2 separate regions of the Homo sapiens genome follow, and region 2 is linked to region 1. Evidence: promoter capture Hi-C in 16 types of primary human blood cells and fetal thymus (Javierre and others, 2016). All regions are on one chromosome and are shown on one strand. The core of a region is centred on a gene start or on the middle of the fragment in contact, and the rest is flanking DNA. Distances in the headings are between cores, read along the strand shown. Region 1 holds the start of OR6K2 (olfactory receptor family 6 subfamily K member 2). Region 2 holds the start of MNDA (myeloid cell nuclear differentiation antigen).

Region 1 (4,170 bases), core at 864-3,363:
CTCATTTGAACTTTGTTACCTCTTTAAATACTGTATGTCCAAGTACAACCACATTCCGAGGAACTGGGGGTTAGAAACTCAACCTACAAATTTTCAGGGGACACAATTTAACAGCCTATAATAGGTGAGGATGTACGTTTGGGTCAAAGTGAGGTTTCTAAGTAAGAAAGTCTGAAGAAAATGTGGAGGTCACGGCCAGGCACGGTGGCTCATGCCTGTAATCCCAGCACTTTGGGAGGCCAAGGCGGGCGGATCACGAGGTTAGGAGATCGAGACCATCCTGGCTAACACGGTGAAACCCCGTCTCTACTAAAAATACAAAACATTAGCCAGGCGTGGTGGTGGGTGCCTGTAGTCTCAGCTACTCGGGAGGCTGAAGCAGGAGAATGGCGTGAACCTGGGAGGCGGAGCTTGCAGTGAGCCGAGATCGCGCCACTGCACTCCAGCCTGAGTGATGAGTGGGACTCCGACTCAAAAAAAAAAAAAAAAAAAAAAAAAAAAGGAAAATGTGGAGGTCGTGAGAGATATCAAAAACAAGGAATTCTGGAGTCATAATAACCACCGAGAATAGAAGGCCAATACGAGCTGATAAATAATCTTGAATAAATAAGATCTTGAAACAATAGATTCTTCTGTGTGAAAGGAAATATAGAGAAAAGAGAAAATGATCACAGAATTTGCGGTTATGTTTACACTTGGGATATAAAAAATTGAATAATCAGTGAGGAAAACCAGGATAGTGTGGTGTCAAATAGGCAAAAAAAGGAATTTCAAACATTGGGCAATTGACCTTTGGAAGTTAGTGGCAATGAAGACAGAGGGAGGCCATTAAATTTCAATGAGAAAGTCGCTAGTATACCTTAAGAAAAGAGATATGGGAAGTTGAGGGTGGATACATTATTCAGAGATTCAAAGAAGAATGAATAGAATAAATACCTTTTACACATTGGAAAAATAATGCAGTTGTTACAAAGGAGGGAAATAACCTGAATAGAAACAGTATTTTCTCCCAAGATAAGAAGAAATGTGCATGTTTGATTGCAGAAGAGACAAATAAAGTAAAACAAAACATTCTGAAAAGAGAATAAATTAATAGGACAATTTCCTATAATGTGTGTAGTTTAAATTGTATTCTACAGGGCACTGCAGCTCTGCCCTTCCTTCTAACTACCACCATTCAATTGTACCAGAGCAAGTGTACAACTATATTAAGCATTTATTTATTAATATAGTTAGTTTTCATAAGTTACTACATTTGACCAAAGGCTTCTGGTACAAAACCCCTTTAAGATCTCCTTACCAAGAAGACGTAGAAGAGAAGGAAAGGAAGGAGATAGAATAGACTATCTTATAAAACAAGGTAAAATAACTTATGATTATTTATATGGCTTTTCTTCTCCAAATATTCTCTGAATTATGGTTAAGAATATACATATGAAGAGAGGAAGAGTTATTAGAGAAAGAGGGTTGAAAGAATTCACCAGTAATGGTTTTGTCTTTATTATAAAAATATGCCAATCAAATCATATGCCAAGAATCCAATAAACTGGGAGCTTGAAGAAAAAATATATGGAACAATGTGGGGAGATTATTAGGGAATCAATAAGATTTAAATATCGAAAAGAACGTCCTCTTAATTATTGATTATTCCTTCAATGCTCTGTCTAATTCTATATTCGCCTAAACAAAGTTGTTTTAAAATATAGTCCCCTGACCAGCAGGACCACCATTGCCTGAAAATTTGTTAGAAATGAAAATTCTTGGGTCCTACCTCAGAACTACAGATTAGGACCGAACTCTCAGTATGAGGACCAGCAATATGAGTTTTAACAAGCCCTCCAGGTGATTCTGATGCATGTTAATATATCTGAGAATCTCACATCCAAAATATTGACTGTGCTTTCTGACTGGATTTTTTCCACACTACAACTTAAGTCGTAAGCAACTATAGAATATGGACCATGTCCTTCTTCCTTGTCTTCCTCTCTATCCCCATTACAGGGCTCTATTCAGACGCTGGCTTCTTGTAAGTGTATTCCTTTATCCAATAGTAGATGCCTCCTAGAAGGCTTGAGTGCACTGGAAATTGAAACTCTCACTTTCAACTTGGAGATGGAGAGCCCCAATCGAACCACCATTCAGGAGTTTATCTTCTCCGCTTTCCCTTATTCCTGGGTTAAGTCTGTTGTCTGCTTTGTTCCACTGCTCTTCATCTATGCTTTCATTGTTGTTGGAAACCTGGTCATCATCACAGTGGTCCAGTTGAATACTCACCTCCACACTCCCATGTATACTTTTATCAGTGCTCTTTCTTTCCTGGAGATTTGGTATACCACAGCCACAATCCCAAAGATGCTGTCTAGCCTGCTTAGTGAGAGGAGCATTTCCTTCAATGGTTGTCTCCTGCAGATGTATTTCTTCCATTCCACCGGCATCTGTGAGGTGTGTCTCTTGACAGTTATGGCCTTTGACCACTACCTGGCCATATGCAGCCCTCTTCATTATCCCTCTATCATGACCCCCAAGCTATGTACCCAACTGACTTTAAGTTGCTGTGTTTGTGGCTTTATCACACCCCTTCCTGAGATTGCCTGGATCTCTACACTGCCATTTTGTGGTTCGAATCACCTTGAACATATCTTCTGTGACTTCCTCCCAGTGCTGCGTCTGGCCTGCACAGACACACGAGCCATCGTCATGATTCAGGTAGTGGATGTCATTCATGCAGTGGAGATTATTACAGCTGTGATGCTCATCTTCATGTCCTACGATGGTATTGTGGCTGTAATTCTACGTATTCATTCAGCTGGAGGCCGCCGCACAGCATTTTCCACGTGTGTCTCTCACTTCATTGTCTTTTCGCTCTTCTTTGGCAGTGTGACTCTCATGTACCTACGCTTCTCTGCCACCTACTCTTTGTTCTGGGATATAGCCATTGCTCTGGCCTTTGCAGTTTTGTCTCCCTTCTTCAACCCCATTATCTATAGCCTGAGGAATAAAGAAATAAAAGAAGCTATAAAAAAGCACATAGGTCAAGCTAAGATATTTTTTTCCGTAAGACCAGGGACCTCAAGTAAGATATTTTAGTTGAGATTCTGTATAGTTGCTGGTTCCTCTTCACCTTCAGCTCTCAGCAATCTGTCTTTTCCTATCAACCTTCTATTCAAACTGGTCTCCCAAAGCTCACCAAACCAAACCAAACCAAACCAAACAAAAGGAAACAAATTCAGCAATAGCTAACGTCAATAACTTCTATTTAATCATTACTCAATTAGACATATTTTTCAATCTGACTTTATTAATTACAGTTTCTGCCACTCAAGTTATTCAAAGTAAATTCATTTTGTTGAAATGTTCTGCATAAACATTTACTTTAATTTTAAAGCAATTAAAATATTTGTCTGTAAGACCTGGTAATTTAAAAAGTATCCTTCATAAGACTAAGTTTTATCCATGGTGCCTCTAGCTTCTATAGTTGAAGAATGACTCAAATTTTTAAATTGAGTATCCAAGTATTGATCAATAAGCAATTTAATTGTTACTCATTAAATAATCAGTTTTTTCATGATACATAAAAAACCTAGATGTTGCATTCACTGTGATCAAATGCATTGTACATATTAAGTAATAAACATAAAAATGATCTGTTGAATGAATAAACCAACATACCGCCATGCTGCATTCTGATTGTTTTAGACAATCGACCAATTGTGTTAGGCAACAACTCTTTCAAGCTCTCTTCTTTGGCTTTTAGGATTCCAAACTCTTTTTTATCCTACCTCATTGACGCTTCTTTCTCTTGCTGAGTCTTCATGTCATACATGCTTTATAAAAAGCGATTTTTCTCCAGGGCTCATGATTCAGCTGGGATAGGATAAAGCTTATTACTGTGCAAATGTTAATAAATTTTTACCCTTCTCTAGCCTGCCAACACAAATCCTATAGCTGTCAGTGTGATTTCCCCACTTTTGTGCCACAATCCTTTCATTACTTTTACTCCTAAATCTTATGATATTTTAAAATAAAATGGAAAGACAAGTTAAGGAGAGATCTTATAAAAAGGGTTAATGCTATCAAATAAAAGTCTGGGATACAGAAGAGAAGAAAAATCAGAGAAAACCTGTTGATTGTGGGTGCAGGGGGTCTGGGTAAGAGAAAGGCTTTAAGGGA
Region 2 (4,170 bases), core at 967-3,466, 130 kb before region 1:
AACCCATAAAAACCACAATGAGATATAACAATTAAAAACATACATGCACAAAACATCGGAGCTCCTAGGATGATGTTTTTTGGTACTGTCAAAAAAATAACTACAGAAAATAACCAGTGTTGGTGAGGATGAGTAAAAAAGGGAAACCTTGTACATCATTGGTAGGAATGTAAAATGGTTCAGATGCTATGAAAAAAATATGATTCTTACTCTTAAAATTAAAAATAACATTACCATATGATTCAGTAATTTCACTTCTAGATATATTCCCAAAATAAGTGAAAGTGTGATCTCAAATAAATGCATGTACATATATGTTCATTGCAGCATTAATCACAACAGAAAAATGTGAAAGTATTACAAGTGTCCTTCAATGGATGAATGAATAAAAAGAAATATGGTTTCTTACGTATTTTATGGTAAATACATGAAATGGAATATTATTCTACCCTAGGAAGAAAGAATATTCTGACACATGATACAATACAACATGAATGAACTTTGAGAACATGAAATGAAAAAAGCCAGTCACAAAAAGCACACGCTTACTGTATGATTAAACATATATGAAGAGTTAGAGTTTTTAAATTTATGGGGAAAGAAGGTAGAATGATGTTTGCCAAGCTCTGGAGGAAAGGGGAATGGTGAAATTGTTGGTTAACGGTTAGAGTTTTAGTTTTGCAAGATGCAAAGGCGTTCTGGAGGTTGGTTGCACAACAATATGAATGTATTTAATACTACTGAACTGTACACTTGAAGCTGATTAAGATGACACATTTTATGTTACATGTTTCTTAACACAATTAAAAGAAAACAATTATTATATTCAAAGCTTTCAGAAGCTTGGCAGTGAAAATATCCATACCCACAGCTCTTTGTGAAGAACTACTCATTATGAAAAGAAATAAATCTAAGAAATGTTGGAGGCCAAAAGGGAAGAAAGATCAAGCAAATACTTTAATTAGTGTTTTTACTATCTTAAAAATAAGTAAAGCCAGAGTCAAATAAAAGAAAACAGGAACTATATGAACATACTCTTAACAGGTGAAGTTGTATGTTTGGGGGACCAGAAGATGTGAGAGTTTGCTAAGGGGCTTGTCTTTAAGGAGAATATAGATTTTTTAAAAATAAGAAACTTGACAAGAAAGGAGAAGAAGAAAGCACAGAATAAGTGCTATAAATTGAAACAAAGTAAGATGGCAAAACCAAGTTAAAATATATACCTTTATAGAATTTGCATATCTGGACTAAACTCATCAACTAGGAGGAAAAATTTTCAATTTGGATTAAAAATAAATCCAGTCATATGTTGTTGACAAAGTACAAATAAAGCATAAGTTCACTTAAGTTTGAGAAAGAGCTGGAAAAGTTATATTCTTCAAACTCTAACTTAAAGAAAGACTTTTTAGGAAAAATAGTGTAGCTTAAAATAGGCTTAAGTCAATAAGTATCAGTACATAGTTTCACTACATAATGGTAAAGTATGCAACTTGGAAAAAGATATAATAATTTAAATTATATTATAAATATAATCTGTTATTACTTTATAAAGTAGCATATAGAAGTTTTTTCTTCTCTCTAAACACACACATAACATATATACTTAGATATACATATTCTATGTAAAAATATATGGTAGAAATCAAAAGAACTACAATGAGAAATTAACAAAATCACTATTAGAGTTGGAGATTTCACCACATCTCTCAGTTACTGAAAGAACAAGGTAAAAAATAGCTTAGATTTAGATTTAGATTTTTCAAACATAATTAACAAGCTTACTTAAGAAACTTTATCTTACTTAAATAGAATTTGGAATCCAACGTTTATAAACTCTTCTCAAGTACTCATGGAGTAATTAGAAAACATTCATATGTACAAAGCCATAAAAAAGTCAAAATGTATCCCAAAGTAGGAAATATATAATTGATTCTCCCTGTCTTTTCATTATACCTTGCCACAAAAAATGTTATCTATGACTGAGTAAAGCATAGACCATTTGAAAAAGAGAATTATTTCTTCTTACACTTGTTGTAAAATGAAGCATAAAATGAAACTGATTCATGAAAATGTAAAGATTATTTTTGAGTAAATGCTTGTAAAATTGAGAAATTAATGTGTGCACATGTCTATGCTTTTTAAAATAGAGATAAAATCATATAATAGAGATTTATATCCTGGTTTATTTTTTACTAAATATTACTTCATAATAATTTTCTTATCTGACTGTCTTGTCTTTTAACTTAGGCCCAAACCCAGTCACCAAGTCATCCTCCAGCCAAGAAAACCAAGTATCTCCTCTAAATATCAATTTATGCCAAAAGACACCCAAGAATTAATTTTTAAAACCTGCTGTAGACAAAATACATTTTTTTGGTTCATACCCCAATTGTGGTAGAATAAAAGATATCCATTTGCTACCTAGACAGTTAAAGCATTCAGTTCTCAGTTTTCTGAATATGATTGATAACAACACTTCTGGTCTCAGGCAATTATTCTCTACTGAGATGGTGTGGTTACCAACTAGATACCTAGATCTTTCTCTAAAGAACTTCCCAGAAATCTCACCTTAATGGATGCTTCTTCCACAATAGTCTTCAGAAATCCTGGAGTCACTGTCTTGTTTAGGACAGAATCACTGTCCGTAAAGCTTTGGAGAGATTAAACTGCAGACTATTTTAATCTTGTAAAGGGCTGAGAAATGAAAGCTAACAAGGAAAAATGGCACTTGTTAGAGCCACTCTCAATCTTGATTGTAGATGGCCTTCTTACACTGTCCTAATTCCTAACTAGAAAGAAGTTATGTAATCATGAAACAATTTTGAAGCCACGCCTATCAGCCTTTGTAGCTTTCTATTTCAGATGTCAGAGAAAGTGGTCAGTTCCTCTTTGTAGTAAGTAATCTCAGTCACAAGGAGAAATGACAGTAAATGGTGCCTCTTCTTCGCTTTTTTGACTTACAAATACTTGCTGAAAGGAGTTTCAAACTCAGAACTTTCTTATAAAGCTAACTTACATATAGGTCATTAGAAACCGGTAGCCGCTTGAATAAGGATCTTAATATAAATTGGGAAAGGCAAAACACCAAAGTTTCTCCCTCCTTTCCTGTTCACAGAGTGGCAGGAGCAGGAGATCTTGGTAGAGATGTCTATTGCTACCAGAACTTGACTTCATCTCTTGGATAGGGGTGGGTCTACTGTGAAATTGTTTTTGTTTAAATAGTACCTACATATTCACCCAGTTATTAATAACTGATACACCTGGAGCTTGACAGAGGCAGAAAGTCATTATGAATATGTAAATCCTTATTCAAATAATTTGAAAGAGTTTCATACTAGTTGCTCTCTTGAGTATAATAACTGAGCTGCCTTACCTTGATTATTAAATTCATGATTACTCATGCTTTTTGCATTATTTATGGATAGTTGGTTCATATCATGACTGAAACCTTGAACATTCTGGAACAGCACTGAAACTCTGGAATGATAGGGGGCCTGATAAACCCTTTGTACTGCAATTTTTTTTTCCTGTGAAGAACAGTGGGTGCACTACAAAGTATCATAACTCTGAATTGTCAAATGAATGGTATCAGTTAGCAGACAGTGCTGTGGTTACCAACTAGCTGATCTGTAAGCAAAATGTGGTCATGACTGGAAAAGGATCCCAAAACAGCTAATAGGGGAAAATGATCCAAGGCCATCTACAGAGAAGAATAAAGCTGATTGTCTTAATCCAAACCAGCAGCATAGAGAGAGTTAAAGTTTGGATTTGGAAACTGTCTAAACCCCACTAAAGCAGGGTAAATCAGAAAAAACCAAGAGGATCTAGAATGACAGCCACTAACACATGTGGGTGTTCATTGTTTCAGTTTCTCTCTTATGCTGATGCTTCGAGCAGGTCTTAAGGTAAAGGGTAAAGAGGAACACAAGGAAACCTTATCAGGTGCCCCACTTCAGTGTTTGGGAACCAAAAGAGCTCACGACAGGAGTTACCATGTTTCAGGACAGCTTTCTGCCCTGATATGGTTTGGCTCTGTGTTCCCACCCAAATCCCATCTTGTAGCTCCCATAATTCCCACGTGTTGTGGAAGGGACCTGGTGGAAGATGAATGAATTATGGGGGCAGATCTTTCCCATGCTGTTCTCATGATAGTAAATGGGTCTCATGAGA

The links. Contacts are between HindIII fragments. The CHiCAGO score rates a contact against its expected background, and 5 or more counts as called.
Region 2: a contact is called between a fragment that was not itself captured here and the fragment with the promoter of OR6K2 in region 1, in 1 of 17 cell types (erythroblasts). The highest score is 5.0, in erythroblasts.

Annotation. Positions count from the first base shown.
Region 1 is chr1:158,698,595-158,702,764 of GRCh38, reverse strand. It overlaps OR6K2 (olfactory receptor family 6 subfamily K member 2), which reads left to right and starts at 2,113. Exons shown (of 1, transcript NM_001005279.3): 1 at 2,113-3,087. The coding sequence starts at 2,113. The coding sequence ends at 3,087. The HindIII fragment of the contact is 9,102 bases long and covers 1-3,882 here.
Region 2 is chr1:158,829,956-158,834,125 of GRCh38, reverse strand. It overlaps MNDA (myeloid cell nuclear differentiation antigen), which reads right to left and starts at 2,775. Exons shown (of 7, transcript NM_002432.3): 1 at 2,569-2,775. It also overlaps a transcript of OR6N1 not described here. The HindIII fragment of the contact is 873 bases long and covers 1,780-2,652 here.